4 separate regions of the Homo sapiens genome follow, and regions 1, 3 and 4 are each linked to region 2. Evidence: promoter capture Hi-C in 16 types of primary human blood cells and fetal thymus (Javierre and others, 2016). All regions are on one chromosome and are shown on one strand. The core of a region is centred on a gene start or on the middle of the fragment in contact, and the rest is flanking DNA. Distances in the headings are between cores, read along the strand shown.

What was found. Contacts are between HindIII fragments. The CHiCAGO score rates a contact against its expected background, and 5 or more counts as called.
Region 1: a fragment that was not itself captured here is called in contact with the fragment with the promoter of GABARAPL2 in region 2 in 1 of 17 cell types (naive B cells); the score reaches 5.1 in naive B cells.
Region 3: a fragment that was not itself captured here is called in contact with the fragment with the promoter of GABARAPL2 in region 2 in 4 of 17 cell types (naive B cells, total B cells, total CD8 T cells and 1 more); the score reaches 11.3 in naive B cells.
Region 4: a contact is called between a fragment that was not itself captured here and the fragment with the promoter of GABARAPL2 in region 2, in 1 of 17 cell types (monocytes). The highest score is 5.7, in monocytes.

What each region holds. Positions count from the first base shown.
Region 1 is chr16:75,393,846-75,396,628 of GRCh38, reverse strand. CFDP1 (craniofacial development protein 1) reads left to right here. Exons shown (of 7, transcript NM_006324.3): 5 at 1,420-1,539. Among named protein-coding and RNA genes, the nearest start is that of CFDP1, 38 kb to the left of the region's middle. The HindIII fragment of the contact is 193 bases long and covers 1,397-1,589 here.
Region 2 is chr16:75,565,002-75,567,820 of GRCh38, reverse strand. It overlaps GABARAPL2 (GABA type A receptor associated protein like 2), which reads right to left and starts at 1,442. Exons shown (of 4, transcript NM_007285.7): 1 at 1,301-1,442; 2 at 914-969. The coding sequence starts at 1,334. RefSeq lists an enhancer at 227-980 and a silencer at 970-1,379. The HindIII fragment of the contact is 5,212 bases long and covers 37-2,819 here.
Region 3 is chr16:75,756,122-75,758,821 of GRCh38, reverse strand. No RefSeq gene overlaps it. Among named protein-coding and RNA genes, the nearest start is that of CPHXL, 31 kb to the right of the region's middle. RefSeq lists an enhancer at 509-558. The HindIII fragment of the contact is 932 bases long and covers 924-1,855 here.
Region 4 is chr16:75,374,013-75,376,819 of GRCh38, reverse strand. The region is part of intron 5 of CFDP1 (craniofacial development protein 1); the gene reads left to right. Among named protein-coding and RNA genes, the nearest start is that of CFDP1, 58 kb to the left of the region's middle. RefSeq lists an enhancer at 1-213. The HindIII fragment of the contact is 4,084 bases long and covers 1-2,807 here.

The sequences.
Region 1 (2,783 bases), core at 244-2,743, 170 kb after region 2:
ATTTAGCCAGTTTTTGTTTCATCTTTGGGTTGTTTTGGATATAAAACAGGAGCCTTCTGCAGAGTCTTCTCAATTTATTTATTTATTTTTGAGACAGAGTCTCGCTCTGTTGCCCAGGCTGAAGTGCAGTGGCGTGGTCTGAGCTCACTGCAACCTCCACCTCCTGGGTTCAGGCAATTCTCCTGCCTCAGCCTCCCTAGTAGCTGTGATTACAGGCGCCTGCCACTATGCCTGGCTAATTTTTTGTATTTTTAGTAGAGACAGGGTTTCACCATGTTGGCCAGGCTGGTCTCAAACTCATGACTTCGTGGTCCGCCTGCCTTGGCCTCCCAAAGTGCTGGGATTACAGGCATGGGCCACTGTGCCTGGTCTCCTCAAATTTTTTTTTTTAACTCTTGTTTTTCTCCTTGAAATAGTGCCAACCTAGGCATTATTTCCCAATTCTATAACCTATATTCCCAGTATTCCATCTCCCCATCTCAGCTTTCAAGGCTGAGTGCTAATCTGCATGTGGGGTGCAGTGTGAGGGCCTTTTTCAGCCTTCACATCAGTAAACCAGCATGGAGATTTAGTATTGACTGCTGCAGTGTGTTTCATGCTGAGAAGTCATGGAGGGGAGATGGACTGCATTTAAACAACATTCCTCAGGTGTTTTCGTTAACCTGGAAAGCCTAGGCAGGGATTAAACATTTCTCCTTCTCTCTTTATCTGAATTCTCAGGTACCATAAACACCTTTATTTGAACCTTTAGGACTCAGTTTTAGTGAAGATAATTGTTTCAGATTTGAAATTAGACAAAATTCTCAGTCATGTTGCTTTCGTCCATTCCCAAATTATTGCTAATTTAGCCAGTTTTAGGGGATTTTGTTTCATCTTTGGGTTGTTATAGGGTGATAAAATTTATACACATTGTTGTTTCATTTGTTAATTTTAGTGAGGGAAAATGTTTTTTTATTTTTTTTATTTTTTTGAGACGGTGTCTCGTGCTGTTGCCCAGGCTGGAGTGCAATGGCGTGATCTCGGCTCACTGCAACCTCTGCCTCCCGGGTTCAAGTGATTCTGCTGCCTCAGCCTCCCGAGTAGCTGGGACTACAGGCGCCCGCCACCACGCCCAGCTAATTTTTATATTTTTAATAGAGACGGGATTTCACCATGTTGGCCAGGATAGTTTCGATCTCTTGACCTTGTGATCCGCCTGCCTCGGCCTCCCAAAGTGCTGGGAGTACAGGCGTGAGTCACCACGCCCGGCTGGGCAAATGTCTTTATTGAAAGTTATAGTAAACTTTTATCATAATGCTGAGCGTCCAGAATTTATTGGAAGCCGAGTGGATCTTTTTCTAGTTGTCTTTATTCCCTTTTCTAGCTTGTTTCTTTCTCTTTATTCTTCTTGTAAGCTTGATGTCTTTTTCCTTGGCACAGGGTAACTAAGGAAGTGGATGCTACATCTAAAGAGGCCAAATCCTTCTTCAAGCAGAATGAGAAAGAAAAACCACAGGCTAATGTTCCTTCAGCTCTGCCATCACTCCCTGCCGGGTCAGGGTGAGTATTTGAGTCTCACTCCCTGATGTACTTGGCACGTTGGAGAAGCTTTCAGTGCAAATACCTACTTTCGCTGCAGATCAGACTCCTTGCCTGAGAGAGAGAATTATGATGCTGCTTTGCCTTTGCTGCAATATTTACCAGAATGGAAGATGCAAAGGAAAATTAGCCATAACTTTCTCAGGAGGATTGCTTGAACCCAGGAGTTTGTGACCAGCCTGGGCAATACAGTAAGACCCTGTCTCTTAAAAAAAAAAAAATTAGCTGGGCATGGTGGCTTGCACCTCTGTCCTAGCTACTGTGGAGGCTGAGGCAGGAGGATCCCTTGAGCCCAGAAGGTTGAGGCTGCAGTGAGCCGTGATTGTGCCACTGCACTCCAGCCTGGGTGACAGAGAGATCCTGTCTCTTAAAAAAAAAAAAAAAAAAAAAAAGCGAAGAAAATTAGTTGTAGCTTTCTTATTTGTTGCCAGCCTAAAAGAAGTCCTAGTTTATAGTATTGAACACAAAGCTGAACGTGTAAATTTTACATTTAAAAATAATACTTTTCAAATGAAAATATCAGCCTTCTGCAGAACTTTTCATGAAGATTTGCGATGAACACTCACTCCCATCCTCTGTGATCTTAGAGGAACATAAAAAGATCAAAGATGATTTACAAATAGTTTTCTTAACACATTGTCAGGAACTTAATGGTTTTCCTCCCTTCATATTTTTCATATTACTTGAGTTATTTTTAGCTGAAGGCTAGAATTCTTTCTTTTTGGAAGAAGTAAAAATTCTTTTCTTAACCTAAATGTGAGAAGTAAAGTATTACAGTAAATCAGAGAGGCTTAAGACTGTTGCCACAGGGAAGTGAACATAGACCCATACCATGGATAGCCCTGACTACCCACCTGACTCCTGTGGGGAGTTCTGCATAGTCTCCTACAGTGGCTTCTGTGGCCCTTCAGTCAGATATTGTCCCCTCTTCCTTCCCTCCTGGAGCATACCTGTCATTGCTATGAGCAGTAAAGTTTTGTTTCACATTTTTTTTTTGAGGTGGAGTCTCGCTCTGTCACCCAGGCTGCAGTGCAGTGGCGCAATCTCGGCTCACTGCAAGCTCCGCCTCCCGGGTTCATGTCATTCTTCTGCCTCAGCCTCCTGAGTAGCTGGGACTACAGGTGCCAACACGCCCGTCTAATCTTTTGTATTTTTAGTAGAGACGAGGTTTCACTGTGTTAGCCAGGATGGTCTTGATCTCCTGA
Region 2 (2,819 bases), core at 193-2,692:
ATTATGTAAGAGAAATGCAGCCCTTACCACTAAGCTTTTCCACATTTTATCTGGGCAGACCTAAGAATATCTGGGGAGGGTTTCATCCATGGCCCGTTACTCCAGGACCCCAGAATGGATCCACCTTCACACTACAGGAAACACTACTGTGTTCCCAAGGAACACAGGAGACAAGAATGGATGGACTAATTGGAATGCCTGGAATTTTAGCCAGCCAAGAACCAAGTTCTTCATTTGGCCTGTTGCTCCTCTCTGAACAAGTTTCAAATCCGTCCCTCCTACTCCTTTCCCCAGACAAATTATTCACAAGCAAAGAGCTACAATAACAGGCCTTAATGTCCATTAAAAATTAATAACGATTACAAAACTATCTCCCCAACCATGGAAGAAATATAACATTATATTTATTATTGACTAAGAAGAAAATATGGCAGAAGGGGTTTTCAGCGGCTTTTCACATTATTTTGGTCAGGCAAGGATGACAGGGTCAAGGTGAGATAACGGAGCTAGAAGTTAGGTAAAGATGGAGACAAAGTAAAAGATGAACGTCCTGAGACTCAAGTACCACTTCCAAGACCAAAATGACAGTCTCCCTCCACCACCATTCCCAAAAGTGGCAGTGACCTGTTGCCCTGTCCTAGAACATCGTTCCTTACATAATTGGCCAGGGAGCCCCGAGGCTGCAGACGGCTCGCTGGCCTAGATCGGGAGATTCAGCACTGAGGCACCCTGAACAGCACCAGCCCGAGCCCCTCACGCCCCGGCCCTGGGCGGCCTCATCCCGGTCTGGCCCGTCAGCTACTGTAACTGGGACTGGAACCTCAACTTGTCAACTGTTGAATGGCCTGGGGCCTATCACGGGTCCCAGACGACAGAGGTGACAGCGAGGTGAGGGGGCGGAGAGTCCACTCACCGGAACCCTGTCGGGATATTTCGCTCGAATCTTCGCGGACTCCACGCATCTGTGTTCTGTGGGAGAAACAAACGGGGCTGACGGCCGCGCCTGCCCACCGGTCGGTTCCCGGCCCCCGGCCCTCCTCCTCCTGCGCCCTGCGTACAACCCAGGCCCTGGTTCCGGCGTCCCCGGGGCCGCGGTCCTGTCCCCTACTAGCTCCCAGCAAGGCCCGCGGAGGGTGACATGGGGTCAGGGGGCCGCTGCCCGAGGCACCAGGGCATGGGCGACTCCAGCCCGCAGCAGGGCATCCGCCCCGCTCCACTCGGCCCAGGGCCGCCCGAGTGGGGGAGGGGGCCCACCCGCCGCCCCAGCCCCCAGCAGCCGGGCCGACGACCAAGTGCTTACCCAGCGAGTGGTCCTCCTTGAACATCCACTTCATGGCGGCGGCGGGAAGGGGACGGAACCGGCTCGCGGAGCCGCGGAGCTCAGCGCACCGAGCACAACAACAACGACGGCGGCAGCGGCAGCGGCAGCGACGGCGGCGACTACACGGCAGGCGGGACTTCCGGCTGTCGGAGCCTAGCAACCGGCCGGGGGCGGGGCTTCCGGCGCCATTTGTCAGGGCGCCACGCCAAGGGGCGGGGCCGCACGTAAAGGGGCGGGGCCGCGGAGGACCCCTTTGGGGGCTCCTGGGCTGCGGTGGCGAAGAAGTTGGTTATGGGGACGTCTGTGAGCAGTATCTGCGACATTGCTCGCAGGAATGTTCGGGGAACTGGTGACAGGAGTGGGGTCTCGGGAGCGTTGGTGGCGGAAAACGTCTGGCTGATAGTGTAGGGCTCTTACTGAGGGCTGTTTGGGGGTGTGGCTGATAGCTGAGGGCTCTTAGAGCGGTTCATAGGGGAAGTCTGGGGAATTGGTGACAAGAACGGTCTTTAGGGGTAAGAATGACATAAGGAGGGCTTTCTAGAGCTTGGCGATAACAAGGGAGCTGTTTAGGGCGTTGACAGTTTGGGGAGTATTGCTCGGAGTGGTGACAGGTTGGGGGCTCATTATGGGAGGGGAGGGTGTTTGAGGACACTGTTGGAAGCGGCACTGAGGACAACCCGGAGGTCCGTATTAGGGACAGCCGTAGTAGGTTGTCTTGGACCTAGAAATTGAATTTAAACAAATCCCGTTTTCTTCCTTTATTCGTGAATAAATATTTGAATAAACATTTACGAAAAGGTATCACAAATGCACATTTGAGGCGGGGTACGGTGGCTCACGCCTGTAATCCCAACACTTTGGGAGGCCGACGCGGGTGGATCACCTGAGGTCAGGAGTTGAAGACCAGCCTGGCCAACATGGTGAAACCCCGTCTCTACTAAAAATACAAAAATTAGCCAGGCATGGTAGTGGGCGCCTGTAGTCCCAGCTCCTCGGGAGGCTGAGGCAGGAGAATCGTTTGAACCAGGGAGGTGGAGGTGGCAGTGAGCCGAGATCACACCACTGCACTCCAGCCTGGGCAACAGAGCAAGACTCCGCCTCAAAAAAAAATGCACATTTGAGGAGTGTAACATCACTGATCACAGACCCCTTAATTTTAACTGGCAGAGGAGTTAGAGGTGACTGTCAGACTCGGAGAATTCCCCTGAGAGCTGGTCATGAGATGGGTTTCCTTATTTGGCTGTGGGAGTGGTTTAGCAATCACAGCCTGAGCTGTGTGTGTGTCACCTGCCCGGACATATGCTTTGAGGTTCTCCAATCAGTGATGTAATGCCTTTTTTCCAAGCAGACTCATCAAGGCAGTCTGGTCTGGGTCACCATCTGTTTATAAGCTGCTGAACATGTAGCAGGAATATTCACTTAATTGGGCACATGAACCCTGCCACGTGCTTGTGATTCTGATGCACCTGTAAAGCCTGTATGTTTGAATGTGGTAGTT
Region 3 (2,700 bases), core at 140-2,639, 190 kb before region 2:
CAGCATTCCTCCCAAGGTCAGGATCCCAGGAGAAAGAGGCCTCCCTCAGGTCAACTCCACCCTGACTCAACAGATCCTTCACAAGGTCCACAAAGAGCATGACCTGATGCTCCTGGTGCTGGCTGCCACAGCTCAGGACCTTCCTTCTATTCAACATGACCACTAGACCACAGTTCCACTGGTCCAGGCCCTGGTCCTCCACCTCCTCCCCTTGTCAGACCTCAGATGTTTAGAGAGTCTTAAAGGGACAGGTCCTAAGAAAAGAAACCTCTGCTCTTCCCCTGTTCCAGAAATCCAGGACACAATTGCCTAGGAATCCTTTTCACCAGGGAGCTTCCCTGGCTGGACACATCCTCCCCATTCTCCTCTGGCCACAAGAAATGTTGGACACCAAGCACTGTCCACTCAGCCTGAAAACGAAAGTGAGTCACCCCTGGATAGATCCCACCTCCCACTGAGCATGCTACTACACAACCACAACCACAAGAGCCCTTTTCCTCTGCTCTACAATAATTTTCATATTTTCTATTTTAGTTTTATTGCCAGTGAGTGATTATATCATGTATAAGATGAAAAAAGACAGGATTCTGCTTCATAATGTGCTCTGCCTGTAGATTATTTCAATAACAACACTAATAAATTAATTACTTCCATTTTATTCTATTTGTAAGTAGCATAATTACAGTTTTATGTTGTTTTTAGCAAAGCCTCTAAAATAATTCAGGAAAACAGCAACTATTTTATTCCAACTTACTTTTTAAATAATTTTATTTGTTTCTCTATTGGTTTTATTGCCATAATTTAATGTATTAATAATTACACATCTCGAAAGAAGACCTGATAGGATTACAATGTTTAGGATTGCAGTTTTAAAATGTGCATGATGTAAATGCAAATTATATTTAACCCTGAGAGCACAAGCTTCCTTCTCACCCCAAACTCCCTTGGGGTGTCCACCGGGAAGCCACCTTAACCTTGACTCTGAAGGGTGTCTCAAGTGGGTTTACAGGTCAAAGCCAACACTCTTCAGTGAGGACCAGCCCCAGACAAAATTATGTGAACACTTTTCGAGGATCCCTGATTCTCTTCCCTGTTCTGTGTCCTCTCTGCCCCATCACAAGCCTGGACTGAGAGTTGGAAGGACCACAAAGGCTAAGTAATCAACCCTTTCCCTATCTCCTCCCTGAACTGTCTCACCTTTACGACTGTGAGGCCAATGTCAGCATTTAAAAACCATAAATAAGACCATGGGCCATGCTGCTCAAAGCCCTCCAGTGCCTACAACTTACACTGAGACTCAAATCTATGCTCTCCTGGCCCATGAGGTTGTCCATGCCCTGGTCCTTGCAGGTGTATACCTACCCAAGCACCTCCTGTGACTCCACTGACCACGATTTTGTCCAGTTAGCATGGCAGGCTCACTAAGTCTCAGAATTTTGCACTGGGCATTTCCTCTGCCGAGAATACCTTTACACCACATATGTGGTGGCTGCCTCCTTCATTTAGATACCAACTCTAATCACGTCTTCTTAAAGTGCCCTTTCCTGACCACTGTAGCTTAGTGATGGTGCTTCCTCATCCCTCTCTGATATGGTTAGGCTCTGTGATCCCACCCAAATCTCATCTTGAATCCCCCTTGTAATCCCCATAACCCCATGTGTTAAGAGAGAGACCAGGTGGAGGTCATTGATTCATGGGTGCAGTTTCCCCCATACTGTTCTCATGATAGTAAGTGAGTTCTCACGAGATCCGATGGTTTTATAAGTGGTAGTTCTTCCTGTATTCACTATCCCTCCTGCCACCTTGTGAAGAAGGTGCCTTGCTTCCCGTTCACCTTCCACCATGATTGTAAGCTTCCTGAGGCCTCCCCAGCCATGCAGAACTCAGAGTCAATTAAACCTCTTTCTTTTATAAATTACTCAGTCTTGAGCAGTTCTTTATAGCAGTATGAGAACGAACTAACACATTTTCTATTCCTTTGGTCCGATTTATTACCTCATAGCACTCATCCTTTCTGAATCATCATATTTCTGTGTTTATTCCTTGTGTATTTTCTGCATCATCCTCTGCACCATATGGGCTGGTGTGGCAGAGAGATTATCTTACTCCCTCTGGGTAGCACAAGACAGCCACTCATTAATGCAGTTTATATAGAAGGCAGGGGAAGCTCAAGTTTGTGGGAAAAGAGGAAAGAGGTGTTAAGGAAAAAGACATGGTAGGATAGCCACTGGCCTCCTGCACCACAGTGTTGAGCAGGGAAGACCTTTGGTGCTTTTGTGTTAATGGAAAAGCTACTGGTCCTCAGAGGCTGAGATTATTTCACTGACTTGGATTGTCCTTAACAATACAAAGGACCTGCAAGTGCTTAACAATCAGCTCTTCCCTGGGTGTCATCGATAATATTCCTTAGGCCCACAACTCACAAAACACAGGATTCCTCTCCCCATCCCATTTATAAAACTGGACTCGGGGTTGGAAAAGACCTCAGACACCAAGCTGCCAGCCTTCCTGTGTTGCCCCCTCTGATATGGTTTGGCTCTGTGTCCCCACCCAGATCTCATCTCAAATTGTAATCCCCATGTGTTGAGGGAGGTAAGTGATTGGATTATAGGGGCAGTTTTCCCCATGCTGTTCTTGTGATAGTGAATAGATTCTCACTAGATCCAATGGTTTTATAAATGGTAGTTTTTCCTACACTCA
Region 4 (2,807 bases), core at 95-2,594, 190 kb after region 2:
GGTGTTGTCATACCAATGGTAAACTGACATAGCACACTGGTGGGTGTGTCTTACAGAAAGCCGCTTCTGCCCCATACCTGTTTTAGCTAGTCATCAATTTGGTTTGGTATCCAAGCCCTGCCTCTGGAATCCTGTCCTGCCTACTACTTCATAGCCACTATCCAAGATAAGGTATAGTATGATTCCGTCACTCCAGAAAGTTCCCTCATGCCCCTTTCCAGTTGCTTTTGCCCTATGCTCTTTGCCCCAGGCAACTACTGATTTTTATCATGATAGATTAGTTTTGCTTTTCCAGAACGTCATGGAAATCAAAGCATACATTTTTTAAATTTTTGTGCCTGGATTCTTTTACCTACAGTGAAAGAACATGTATTTGAGACTTATCATGTTGCTGTGTATATCAGTGGTTCATTGCTTTTTATAAATTGTTCATATATACCACAGTTTATCCATCTATCCTGCTGATAAACGTATGGGTTATTTCCAAATCTTTTTGAAGACATATGTTTTTATTTATCTTGGGTACCTAAATACCTAGGAATGGAATTGCTAGGTCATGGAGTAGATGTGTGCTTAATGTTTTTGTTTTGGTTTTGATTTGGTTTTTCTGAGACAGGGTCTTGCTCTGTCACTCAGGCTGGAATGCAATGGCATAATCACAGCTCACTGCAGCCTTGAACTCTGTGGCTCAAGAGATCTTCCCACCTCAGCCTCTCGAGTAGCTGGGACTACAGGTGCACACCACTATGTCTGGCTAATTTTTAATTTTTTTGTAGAGATGGGGTCTCCCCATGTTGCAGGCTGGTCTCAAACTCCTAGGCTCAAGCAGTCCTCCTGCTGCAGCCTCCCAAACTGCAAGGATTATAGGCATGAGCCACAACGCTCAGTCTTAATGTTATAAGAAACTGCCAAACAGTTCCTCAAGATGGTTGTACCATTTTATATTTTGCCAGTGATGTATGAGGGTTCTACTTGGTCCATACGTATCCTTGTTCACATGTGATGTTGTCAGTCTTTTTTTTTTTTTTTGAGATGGAGTCTCGCTCTGTCGCCCAGGCTGGAGCACAGTGGCATGATCTCAGCTCACTGCAACCTCCACCTCTGGGGTTTAAACGATTCTCCTGTCTCAGCCTTGGAGTAGCTGGGACTACAGGTGGATGCCACCACACCTGGCTAATTTTTGTATTTTTTGTGGAGATGGGGTTTCATCATATTAGTCAGAGTGGTCTTGAACTCCTGACCTGAGGTGATCCACCCGCCTCGGCCTCCCAAAGTGCTGGGATTACAGGCATGAGCCACCGCGCCCAGCCTTGTCAGTCTTTTTTATTTGGGTAAGTGTGAAATGGTATCTCCTCTGATTTTAGTTTGCATTGCTCTGAAAACTAATAATAATGACATCTTTTCATGTGTAAAGTGACTCTTCCAATCTTACCCATTTTTATTGGGTTGTTTTATTCTGTTATTGGTTTATAGGAGTTCTTCTTATATTCTGAATATAGATAGTTTGTCAGATGTAAATGCTAAGAATTTTTCTTAGTGTTTGTCTTGCTTATTCATTTTTTTGGTGGTGTGTTTAGATGAGCAGAGTTTTTAATTTTGATATTCAGTTCGTCTTTTACAGTTAGTGCTTTTTGTGTCCTAAGAAATCTGCCTATAAGGTTGAGAAGATTTTGCCTTTTTTTAATGGTCCTGGCTTTTATGTTTAGGTTTTTTTTGTACCTTGAATTAATTTTCATATATGGACACATTTAGGTTTTTTTTTTAGAAACATAGAAGCAATATATGCGTGTTCTTCTAAAAATTCAAGCAACACAGAGATATAGAAGACAAAATGAAAGTTAATAATTTGGTGGGGTTTTTGTAAGGTCTCCACTGTTCAGTAGAGTAGTCACTAGCTATATGTGGCTGTTGAACACTTGAAATGCCACCAGTCTGAATTGAGATGTGCTATAGGTATAAATACACACTAAATTTTGAAGAATTAGTAAGAAAAAATAAGCAGTCAATTTTTATTTCAGTTCCATTGTTGAAACAGTAACATTTCTGACATATTGGGTTAAATGTATTAAAAACAATTTCAGTTGTTTCTTTTTATATTTAATAGGGCTAAAATATGTTTTTAAACTAGGTATGTGGTTCCCATTTTATTTCTGTGTGTTTTTTTTTTAAGAGATGGGGTCTCACTATGTTGCCCAGGCTGGTCTCAAACTCCGGGGATCAACTGATCCTCCCTTCTCAGCCTCCCAAAGTGCTGGGACTACAGGTGTGAGCCACTATGCCCCGCCCATTTTATTTCTATTTGACAGCTCTGTCCTAGACCTTTCCCTAAGCATTTAGTAATCTATGTATATGAATGTGTATCTGTATGAGATACTTTTCTGTTCACATATAAGTGTTTTTTATTTATATAAATGGAGTAATCTAAGCCTATTTTCCTGAAGTTTGTATTTTTTGCTTGAAAATACAAAAATACATATACTAACATATTTCATCTTATTGCCTATACATTTATCTGATTCTTGTTAATGGCTAGTATAGTGTTCTACTTTGAATATTCTATAATTTATTTTATTTTATTTTATTTTGAGACAGTCTCGGGAGTGCAGTGGCGCGATCTCGGTTCATTGCAACCTCCACCTCCAGGGTTCAAGTGATTCTCATGTCTCAGCCTCCCAAGTAGCTGGGACTATAGGCACCCACCACCACGCCTGGCTGATGTTTGTATTTTTAGTAGAGATGGGATTTCGTCATGTTGGCCAGGCTTGTCTTGAACTCCTTACCTCAGGTGATCCACCTGGTTTGGCCTC